2 separate regions of the Homo sapiens genome follow, and region 1 is linked to region 2. Evidence: promoter capture Hi-C in 16 types of primary human blood cells and fetal thymus (Javierre and others, 2016). All regions are on one chromosome and are shown on one strand. Each heading gives the region's core, a stretch centred on a gene start or on the middle of the fragment in contact. The rest is flanking DNA. Distances are from core to core; before and after follow the strand shown.

Region 1 (5,614 bases), core at 2,831-5,330, 68 kb after region 2:
CAAGCGATTTTCCTGCCTGGGCCTCCCGAGTAGCTGGGATTACAGGCATGCATCACCATGCCCGGCTAATTTTGTATTTTTAGTAGAGAAGGGGTTTCTCCATGTTGGTCAGGCTGGTCTTGAACTCCCGACCTCAGGAAATCTGCCCGCCTTGGCCTCCCAAAGTGCTGGGATTACAGGCTTGAGCCACTGCACCCGGCCTATAAAGTCATTTTAATCAGTCTCTAGATGTTCTTTTCATGTTTGAACGTGAGAACAGGGCCTGGAGTTACCTAGTCTGCCATCTTGCTGACCTCACTCTCTGCTTATGCCTGTTTGAAGTTTTGTTTATATTGTTGTAACCTTAAAGAGTCTTGATGAATACTCTCATTATTTAGGTGATAAAACTCAGAGGTTATAGTGTTTAACGTACACAGCTTAAAAAGTGGATAACTCAGGGACTCAAGCCCAAGACGTCTAAGTCTTCCTCTCTGCGTCCTCTAAAGCAGTGTTTCCAAACTTGGCATTCACACAAATGGCCTGGAGATCTCATTAAAATGCAGATTCTGGCCGGGCGCGGTGGCTCATGCCTGTAATCCCAGCACTTTGGGGGGCTGAAGCAGGTGGATCACCTGAGGTCAGGAGTTCGAGACCAGCCTGACTAACATGGTGAAACCCTGTTTCTACTAAAAAAAAATACAAAAACTAGCTGGGCGTAGTGGCGCCTGTAATCCCAGCTACTCAGGAGGCTGAGGCAGGAGAATCACTTGAAACCAGGAGGCGGAGGTTGTGGTGAGCCGAGATCACACCATTCCACTTCAGCCTGGGTGACAGAGTGAGACTCTGTCTCAAAAATAATAATAAAAAAAAATGAAATGCAGATTCTCTGGTCTAGGGTGGGACCAGAGGTGCTGAATTTCTCACAAGAACCAAAGCGAAGCTGAGGTTGATGGTCTGTAGCCCACAACTTGAGTGCTGGAGAAAATGACAGCCTTAAGACAAGGAAGCAACCAGCTCAAAATGATCTCCTGTCAGTGTCTTCTGGATGTGTAGTTACATACTAGTTTTCCTGTCTTATAGGATTGAGATGTAGAGAAAACTTGATCTAGCAAGGAAGATAAAAAGACTCATAGTGGCACAGGATTTCTAGGCTTTCTTTTCCAGTAATGAAGGTGGCCTGAGTTCAAACGTAAATCCTGGACTTTCCCAAGTCATTCCAAAACTCCAGGCAAAGCTTTGGAATCCCAGAGCACCCCCTCATTAGGAGGGATTTAAGTGGCTTGTACTTTGAAAAGCAAACACTGGAGCCTCTACTCCACACCTGCCTTGCTCAGCTCCCTGAAGGCAGCTGAGCTAAAGTGACTATTGAAGAAGGGTCTCTCCCATGCAATAAGCTCACCAGAGAAGGACAAGGCCTCCCAAAGGAATATATATCCATCTGTAGGTCAATCAGAAAGACAAGGCCTCCCAAACGAATATATATCCATATGTAGGTCAATCAGTCAAGCAAGACTAAAGAAGTACCATGGGGTGAAAGCCACTATAGTCAGTACTGGGAGCTTTCTGCTCCCCTCTGGGGCCATCACTGTACTTCTCTGAGTCAGTGAGCCCAGGATAGTGCATCTGGGCTGTGTTTGTTTCAAGAGTGTGAGAAAATGAGGTTGGAGCAAGGGCCAGGTGAGACTGGGGCAGGGCTGCCAGCTGCCTGCTGAGTCCAGTGCTGCTTTTCTTCTGTGTAGCTGCAGGCCTGCTGATGCAGCAGCGTGGCCCTTGTATGCTCACAGAGCAGGAAGTCACCAAACACAGAGCAAGGGGTCCCTGGGCTGCAGGCTCTGCCAATGTGGTTTCGATTCACTCAAATGTTAAAACATTCTTCCTGTTGATCAGCTAAGTTTGTGGACTGTGCAAAAGGAGTTCGTAACGAGGGCAAGGGATACCAGGAAAGCAGTTGTCATTTCTGCCTTTCTTTCCTGGTTTAGGACCAGGGAACAACAGCAAACAGAAGGGCATGGCCCCATATGACAGAACGAGCCCTGCTGCTTCCTACTGAGGGGCTCCGGGAGGATTCTCCACCCTCCTAGCTCTGCTTTTTCTCATCAGACACTGCGCTCATCAGCAGTGCTCTGCCTGAGTAGACACTTCGTTATCTAGAGGACTTTGGAAATAGGGTGTTAAGACATTTTTGTTAAAGACAAACACCATGTGGGGTGTAAGATTCCAGGTCATGGTCATGTGAGTGTCCATGCCTAACTTGAGTGAACATTAGCTTATGAGAGGGTCTCAGGGCCAGATTCATCTATTGACTTAATAACAGTTGAAGCGAAGGGACATTGATTCAATTATTAATTACTTCACCCTTGACTTAGCATGCGCTATGTTGTCAGCTCTGTGCAAGACACTCAGAGCCCAGAAAACCCAAGTGAAACAAACAAAATAAAAACCCCATCCCTGCTCTGGAAGAGCTCCTAGCCTGGACTATAAACCTGTCTTCATTTCCAGAGACAGCCTTCCTTTCAGGGCCTATGTATGATTGATTTTTTTTATTCCTGCCTTCTGTATTTCATGATCAAAAAACCCTGAAGAATTGTCCTTTTTCTCATGATCAAGAGAGAAGCTGCTCCCTGGCAAGTGGTATCATTCCTTCCCCTGACCCCAGGGAACGTGTTCTAGGGAGTGAAGGAGAGGGGACGGGAGGAGAAGGGATGTACTGTTCAGGTTAATGTCCATTGGCCAGACTGTTTGAGTCTCTAAAATGTTGTTCATTCCACTAAAGTTTCATAAATAGAGAGTCCCAGTAGGCTCTGTGCACATCCTCTAGACAATACCGCACGAAGAAAGAGTAGCTGGTGTGCTTCTGGATTATGAAACAGCAAAACACAAAACAAAACAAAAAAAACAAACAAACACTGAAAACAGAAATGACTACAAATCCATACTTTCCCAGGCAGATCCGTGGAGACCAGAGTTATGGGAAAGCCTCCCAGACATGCTGGGAGGGACTCTCAGTCCCTTCCCTCCCTTTACCCAAGACGGATGTGTGGGTTTAATGTTTCAGTAAGATTTCATCAAACCAAACCACAGGAGATAGATGGGTTTCCATTCCAAGGTTTCTCCTTTATTTTTGTTGAGAAAGTTATACGGAAGTTTAAAAAATATATGTGTCCATATCAGAAGATTGTCACCCAATTCAGAAATAGATTTAGGGTGGCTTGAGATGGTGAGACATTTGGGTTTGGAAAGAAATTGATAAATTATCCACTTCTTTTACCACCCCAGGAAAATAGAAACAGAAAATTATCCAGGCAGGACAGAGAAAACTTTTTGAAATGCTGACTTGAGGGTCCAGCATAAAATATTCTATGTAGTGATTGTTGTTAATCTCTCGGGGTTTTTGCTCCTCTGAAAAGTCAAAAGAAAGGCCTCCCATGCACTCCCTTACCAACAGCCTTCAGTGGTTCCCAAGGGTCTCTCCTGCTGAAAGCCCATAATAGCCCTTGAGAATTATTGAGGAGTATGTTAAAAAAAGATTCTGGGGCCAGGCACAGTGGCTCACGCCTGTAATTCCAGCACTTTAGGAGGCTGAGACGGGAGGATCACGTGAGCCAGGAGTTTGAGACCAGCCTGGGCAACATCTCTACAAAAAAAATACAAAAATTAGCCTAGCATGGTGGCACATCTGTAGTCCTAGCTACAGGGAGGCAGGAGGCTGAGGTGAGAGGATCCCTTGAACCTGGGAGGTCCAGGTTGGAGTGAGCCATGATCACGCTGCAATGGAGTGGAGTGGAACACCACTCAGTCCAGCCTGGGCCACAGAACAAGACCTTGTCTCAAACAAACAAATAAACAAACAAAAAACCCCCAAAACAGATCTGGGCATTGAACCTGGACCCTCTGTATTGCAGTTGCTGAGAGTGGAGCACAGTATTGTGCATTTTTAAGTGGTTCTCCTAAGGTGGCTGTCTCAGTCTAAAAACCTTTAGAACTTTGGGTGTGAATGGTCTCTAGGTGAGTTTGTCTCCTGGTGGGTTTGGTGAGGTGGCTGGGCTACAGCCAGACTGTGCTCTCGAGTCACCAAAGCACCACGACACCTTGGACAACCCCTAATTCCTGGCCTGGGTGGGGCCTGGAACATCTTAATCATTAAAGAAGGACGCTCTCTGAGGCTCATGGCGGCAATGTTAAATGATTGAAAACCCAACTCAAACACGCTTCCAGTCGCCACAGAGGGAATAATTTGAGCAGCAACAAAGAAAAAAGACTGCTCTGGACTGGGGCAAATCAACCATTTTAAAATTAATGAGTTCATCATGACAACAGAGAATGAAACTCGTTGACCACCTGGAAGGATGCTGGGGAACCAATCAATGCGTAATGACTGTGAATCATGCATGGATCCTGCCTTCCCTTCTGTGACCAAAAGCTGGCCTTTTGTTTCTCCAAGGAAGGTACTGAATCCCACTTGTCCCTGCAGTCCCGACAGCAGCCTCTCTCAGACTTGCAAGTGCTTAGTGACTGTTAAATCAGGAGGATGAGGCATTTCTCCACCAGCAAAGACATCCCTCGTATCTGTAATTACCTCAGCCCATCGAGGGAAGTGTCTGCTCCAAATTCTCGCTACAGCGGCCCAGCTAGTTTGCCTCCTTACAAACTATCGGGATCACTGGGGTGACTTTACCCTTACCCTGAGGCTAGAGTCCCTCATTTTTCATCCAGGTGACTGCATGTTACCAGTTTTCTAACATTGTGAGCAGCACCCACAAGCTGCAATCTTCAGACCTGCAACTACCCGATCAGTTGAGTCGGCTCTCTCTGGTTTTGCCAAATTGGCCTAGCCTCAAGAGGCCTCCAGTTACACATTGCTCCTTGAAGAAGGGGGCCGCCTCTGAGCCTAGAGTGACCTCGGAATTGTGGTTGGGAACCAGGTTCACCTTCCAAGTGCCAATCTCACTCTGCAGAGGAGTGGGCCTTAGTGTGAGGGGTGGTAGCCCCTCAGCCTCCTGTTGGTGGAGGCCTCAGAGGAGCAGAGAGGACATCTCCTCCTTTTGAATCCTGGCACCTGAGCCAGAAACCGGCTCTCCCAAGAGGTAATATGCATTTCCAAGCCGAGCTGTACACAGAGCTGAGACCCACATTGGCCACTGGCCAGCTGGTGCCCTTGGGTAAGTAATGGCAGCCCTGAATCTCTGTATTCTCAACTTTAAAAGACGAGAAAGGTGCTTTTCTTGGGAGTGCTGTGTCAATTAGGAAGAGGATGGTGTGCAGCAGGCACTTAATTGGCACTGCATTCCTCCTGTGCGGGGTACTCTGGACCTTTCCTCCTCCCTCTGGGCTCCTTAGAAGCGAGGATCAGCCCCTCTGGGCTTATTATCTCAGGCTGCCCCTTCACCCACCCTGTTTGTTGTCTGCTCCTGGGCAGAGACCTTCATTAAGGGCAACAGTGTCAAGGGGTGGCCCAGGCCCTGGAGCCAACCCTGGAAGCATCACTTCTTGCCTGTTGCCCCTATTTTGAGGCTCAGTGGGAATGCCCATGGCCAGCTCCACAGCAAGACAGATGGCTCTGTCACTGGCCTTGAGTAATGGGAGGCTCCTCTCACCCTACTGGGCCAAAATCAAAGGTTTCTACCATCTTTGTGAG
Region 2 (5,469 bases), core at 1,927-4,426:
GCATTTTGGTGGCAGCGATTTTTCTTGTCTCAGCGTTTTAGGAGCAGTGAGGCAGCGTGGAAACGACACAACTGTGAGCCATGATCCCTGTGAAGATGAAGCCACGCAACACGCCCTTCACTGTGGGGGCAGAAAGAAAGAACTGTGTTCCATGTTGTGATGGTTTTTAATACTCTTGCTGTGAGGAAGAGAGTAACTAAGTTAATCAACCACCTACTTAATTAACCAACTAACCAGCATCCCTCATTCTAGATCAACAAGGATAGCAGCAGAGGATTCTAGGTAGACAGGACTGGCTCTAGGTCATTCCAGGCACAGCTTGCAGGGGTTAGCTGATTCCCCAGTGATTTCTGGGGTCCTACAGGAAGGACCCGGGGTCCCAGGGTCAGCTGACCTCCTGGAGAGCTTCAGACGCCCAGACCCACCCTTCCCATGATAGCTCCTGCTGCATGGGGCAAACCCACCAGATCAACCCGCAAGACAGGAGGCCCCTCCCTGGGAAATCTATGGGGGCCGCTGTGAGGAAGCCTCGAAGCCTCAATTCTAAGCGTGCTGCTGAGGCACTCAGCAAATGTCTCTGGCTTCCTAGTAAGTGGCAGGGATCTAAACAATGCTTTCTGCCCTCAGGAAGGTGGAAAGTTCCTCCCCCTCTCAAGTTCATACACAGGGACACAGGGAGGGAACAAGAGGCTTCCCCTGAACAGGGGTGGTTTACAACAGGCTGATCTTAAGAAAGGAATGGGGCACATAGAGTCAGAGAACTGGGCTCATTCAGATCCCTAACTGTTCCCAGACTTTAAGAATTTACTTGGTATTTTACTCATCTGTAAAATGGGTCCTTGTGTAGAGTCCTAAGCAGATATAAGCTGCGACTGCCAAATGGTAGGTCAGCCCTTCCACTCACTGTTCTTGCCATACTGCCTCCTCCTCAGGTCTCTGCTATCCCCTTCAGCAACACCTCCTGCAGTGGAAGAGCATACTTTGACACCCCCTCTCCTGCCCTTTATTTCCAGAGTCACATTTGCAAACAGCTCACTTTCAAAACATTAGGTGCCAAAGAGACACTTTGTTAAAAAAAAAAAAATCAATTTGCATTCAGGAATAAGTAGTGCCCTGGGGCTACTAGTTTTTCTATCTTGGTAGTTTTTTAAAGACATAATTCAGCTGAGCTGCTGATAGCTATGGCAGCCTCAGCTGAGGAATCGCTGTCTGGACATGCATTAGAATTCAGTCGACAGACGCGCAGCAGCAGCCAGGAACAGGGGTCTGGGACCCTAGAGTCCTGTCCCAGAATCCCAGGCTGCACTACCACCATGTTTCATTTCATCTCGGCCAAGTTACTTAGCCTTCCTTTGCCTCAGTTTACTCGTCTGTAAAATGGGGTAATCATAATCCCAACTCCCTCCAAGGAATGTAATTTGGGTGAAATGAAATGAATGCATGCAAAGCATTTAGCACAGGCAAACACTCAATCGGTATGCCTGTTACTTTGTCTTCGGGGTCACCATTACTATTCCTAAGGTCAGGAGTCGGGCTTGCTGCCAGTTCCTCCTGTCAATTCCCTGTGTACACACCCCCCACCCCCTGTGCTACCACACCCCCACCAGGACCCAGTGCACCTCCATCTCTGTGTAATGGCCTTGCCCCTCCACCCTCCAGCTGCAGCGACTCCCCACCCCCTCCCTGGCCCTCAAGGCCTCAGCACAGAAAAGCCTTTCTTAATACTTGTTGATTGATTTGCAAATATAACCTCACAGGCCCCAAAGAGAGAAGAACCAGAATCACCAGAACAAGTAAACCTCATTCAAAAGGGAAAGCATGAAAGCAATTTAAAAAATTAATATGCACAGACCAAAGCCTCAAGAAAATCTAAAATGTCAAAGGGTTGGTTAGTTCAGAAGGGCCATGCAATATTAATACAATGAGTTCTGCATTCATACTTTTCAGTATATTTTCAGAGTCCTCCATGATCATGCATTCAAATAGTGAAAAAAATGGGGGGAAAGCCAACCCGGAAGATCAAAGTGTGTGAATGCGCCCCAAGGAAGCCTGGGGGCTTCCCAGGGGGTTGTGACCACCCTCAGTAGTGCTCTCTGCTGGCCCCACACCCTGATGGCGCTTTGAGTTTTTCAACCACGCTGGAGTTCGGGTCATCTGCTGACACTGTCTGGAGAATGCCTGAGGAACGCCTGAATCTCTTCCCGCCACAGACACTCAAATCACTCCAAGCAAAGGACCCGGGACTCACATGTCAGGCCGCTGCACAGCACCGACACAGAGACCCCTGGGCCGTCCGGGACCCTCCCTCCTCCTGCTTGTCAGCGACAGCTCCCGCGTGCCAGGAGGCACATGCCACACAGCTGGCCCCCAGCCTGGGACAGCACCCCCCACCCCAGAATATCCCCCCACCCCGAGGTCCCGTCCTTCAGGGAAAAAAAGGAAGCGCGTAAAGACCCCCTGCCTCCCACCCACCAAAGGGAAAGGGAAAGAGACGCACTGGAGAGCTTGCCTAGAAAAAGTAGGAGAAGGGTCTTGAGCCTGCCCATTGAAGCCCCTAGCTGCGCTCTCCACCTGGAGTCTCGAGACGGAGTCCTAGGGAGCAAAGTCCGCTCGGTCCCGACAGCGACTGCGACATAGCTGCTCCGGTCTCTGCCCTCAGTCCAGGGCGCCCGGGCGCCACGGGTCCCACTCGAGTGGTCCTGCGCCCCAGCCAGTCCCCAAACCCAGCCAGTCAGCGCCCCCGTCCCCGGACTCCGGCGAAGCTGGCCCGCGCCCCAGCCCCTGTCCTGGGACTCCTGCCGAGCCCCCGCCCCCCACGCGCCGCAAACCCCGTACCCGCGCGCACCAAACCCCTTGCCCGTGCGCCCCCAACCGGGTCCCCGCGCTCCCTAACCTGGGTTCTCCCGTGACCCCATCCCCGCGCCCTGAGCTCCCGTACCCCGCGCTCCCCGAACTCTGTCTCCGCGCTCCCCGAACTCAGTCCCCGCGCCCCAGCTCCAGATCTCTGTGCTCCCCAAGCCTCGTTCCTGCGCCCGGAGCGCGAAAGCCCGCGCCGGGCCCGAAACAAAGAGGACCGCGGCGCGTGGCCGCGTTTCCTCCTTCCCCGGCCCCAGTACCTGGGGGAGCCTGAGGCGCGGTCCGGCAGGGCGATGGCCGCAACGAGGCTGGGCTCCGAGTAGCGCGCGGGCGGGCCCGTCCTCCTGGCTGGCTGCCGGCGCCCGCGGCAGGGCCCCCTCGAGGCGGCGCGGGCAATCGCCACGGCCGGCCCCCGCGCCCGCGCCCCGAGCCTGGCGGGTCACCTGGCCTCATCACCCTAACAATGCAGCGCGCCTCCAGGCGCCCTTCACCGGGGTCCCCCGCCCTGCCGAGGTGCGCCCTGGGACCTCCCTTCGCTGGCCGCAGAGAGGACCTGGAATTATCAGACCCATTGAGCAGCCCAGGCTCCAAGTGGTCTGGAGGCTTGCAGGTTCCGCCGGGCCGGTGTTAGAGTACCTGGGGAGGCGGGTTCGGATCCTGGTTCCTGCACAACCAGTTCATTCTTTCATTCAGCGCCTGTGATTAAGGTGCTCTCCGGGAGCAAGACCTACCCTCCCTCCTGTAGCTCATAGCCTAGTGGGAGTCGCGCATACATAAAGGAGCACAGCCGCTCCGGAAAGCCTAGGGTGCCGTAGAAGCCCCTGAAATACCCAGCTAATGAAGGGAGGAGGTCAGGGAAGTCTTTAGAAGTCACATGACTTCTTAAAATGCGCCGGGACAAATGAGCAGAATTTAGGCAAGCCAGGGGAAACCAGAAAAACGATCCCGAGCAGAGAGATTCTCAGAGGAGGAAAGGCCTATAGGTTGTCCATCCTGACTGTCCATCCCTGAGATTCAGATGGCCCTGAACTCAGTCGCTTAGCCTCAGTTTCCCCATTTGTGAGATCGGGGGAATGGAAAAAGTTTGCAGAAATCAGAAGTGCTCTTCCTCCAGGGAGGTCACAAGAGAAATTTCATCAGCGGTTTGTCCTGTGGTCCTTTCCAGGAAAACATCCTCCCCGCCAGCCTCTCACAGAAGAGACCTAGATTTCATCTGCCACGTGGAGCAGGCGGTCTCAGAATCCCACCCGGAGCAGGGTCCAGGGCAAGTCTTGGAGGACAGTCACCAAGAACTGCTTTGGATTCGGGAACAGAGCTGCCTAACCCATCCGCAGCCCTGGGGTCCTGCCCTGTTCCTCTGGCCCCTTCAGGGCAGCGGGGGAAGCAGGGAAAACAGCCTGTCAGAGATGGCAGAGAAACCGAGCAAGAATAATTATCCTGGAAAAGACTTTCAGAAGTAACCACCAGAAACTTCGAGTCCCCAGATCCAAACAGCTGAGAATGTGGGGCCTGAGCCACGCTCTGACTCCACTCCCACCACATGAGGAGAAACAAGAGCTGCTTTTCTGGAAGACTTGAACAACCCCTGCTGTGCTCTGGAAGGTAGTGTCATTTCTCATCCCCAGACTGATCTGGGTATTTATTCCCAGGCAAAGGCTTCATGAGCACCATGCCCCAGCCCCTAGAGATGAGGCAGGCATTTTTCCTACACTCTAGGAGACACCAGGTCAAGAGTCAATGAGATGAGTCAAGGGGTGCCAGGGAAGATGCCATAGGGGAAGGTGGGGAGGAGGTCACAGCCAGCTGGGTTAGGAATGGGGGTGAGGCTGGTACTGTTACGATCTCCTTTGTCCTGATAAGGAAACAGGATCTGACATTCTAGGCAACTTGTTCAAGGTCACCCACCTGGTCAGGCGAAGAAAGTGGGAGGGATCAGGACTATCTGGCCTTGAGGCTACTCTTAACTTCTTCCCAGCTGCCTGCCCACACCATCCACTCTGTGCAATTGGACTAAATCATCACTTTGCTCAACCCTCTCTTCCATTAAGACCGTGGTGATCTTCACACCCAGAGCCAATTACGTGCTATTCTGTGCATCACAGAAACCATCATAATGCCAAAAACCATGTTGGCTGAATGACAACATGAATTTGAGCTTCTTGCAGTGTTAGGGCACCCATTTACAGGAGGTGACACTGTTGTTTGTCTGAGAGCTCACAGTCAGGAAAACTCAGTGCAGTGCTGGGGTTCTCTGACCCTTTGTCAGGGAGCCTCTTCTAAAATCTCTCCAAACTGCTACCCACACCCAAGCCAGATGGCCCCACCGGCCACACTGCCCTTGTTGGGGTAGCAATGGAATGGGATGCCCCAACCACACCTTTGTTTCTAGAAAAACTGTGACTTGGGTGCTCATTCGTGCAGTGTCTGTGGTTATATTCCCTGGCAGTGTCCCAAGAAAGGAGAAGAAAAACCGGGCTCCAGTATCCCCACGCACTCTGTGTTGGCTGGGATGGCTGTTCCCCGGGTTCCCCACACCTCGTCTAGAGGCACATGAAGGGAAGCCTCTCTGGATCCCCAATCGGGACCTGGGCCCCTTCCAGAGCTTCGCTTCCC

What was found. Contacts are between HindIII fragments. The CHiCAGO score rates a contact against its expected background, and 5 or more counts as called.
Region 1: a fragment that was not itself captured here is called in contact with the fragment with the promoter of TNS3 in region 2 in 5 of 17 cell types (total B cells, naive B cells, M1 macrophages and 2 more); the score reaches 14.8 in total B cells.

Annotation. Positions count from the first base shown.
Region 1 is chr7:47,645,736-47,651,349 of GRCh38, forward strand. No RefSeq gene overlaps it. Among named protein-coding and RNA genes, the nearest start is that of LINC02902, 6.7 kb to the right of the region's middle. The HindIII fragment of the contact is 5,738 bases long and covers 1,212-5,614 here.
Region 2 is chr7:47,578,935-47,584,403 of GRCh38, forward strand. It overlaps TNS3 (tensin 3), which reads right to left and starts at 3,177. Exons shown (of 31, transcript NM_022748.12): 1 at 3,117-3,177. RefSeq lists enhancers at 2,513-3,050, 3,051-3,588. The HindIII fragment of the contact is 9,706 bases long and covers 1-5,469 here.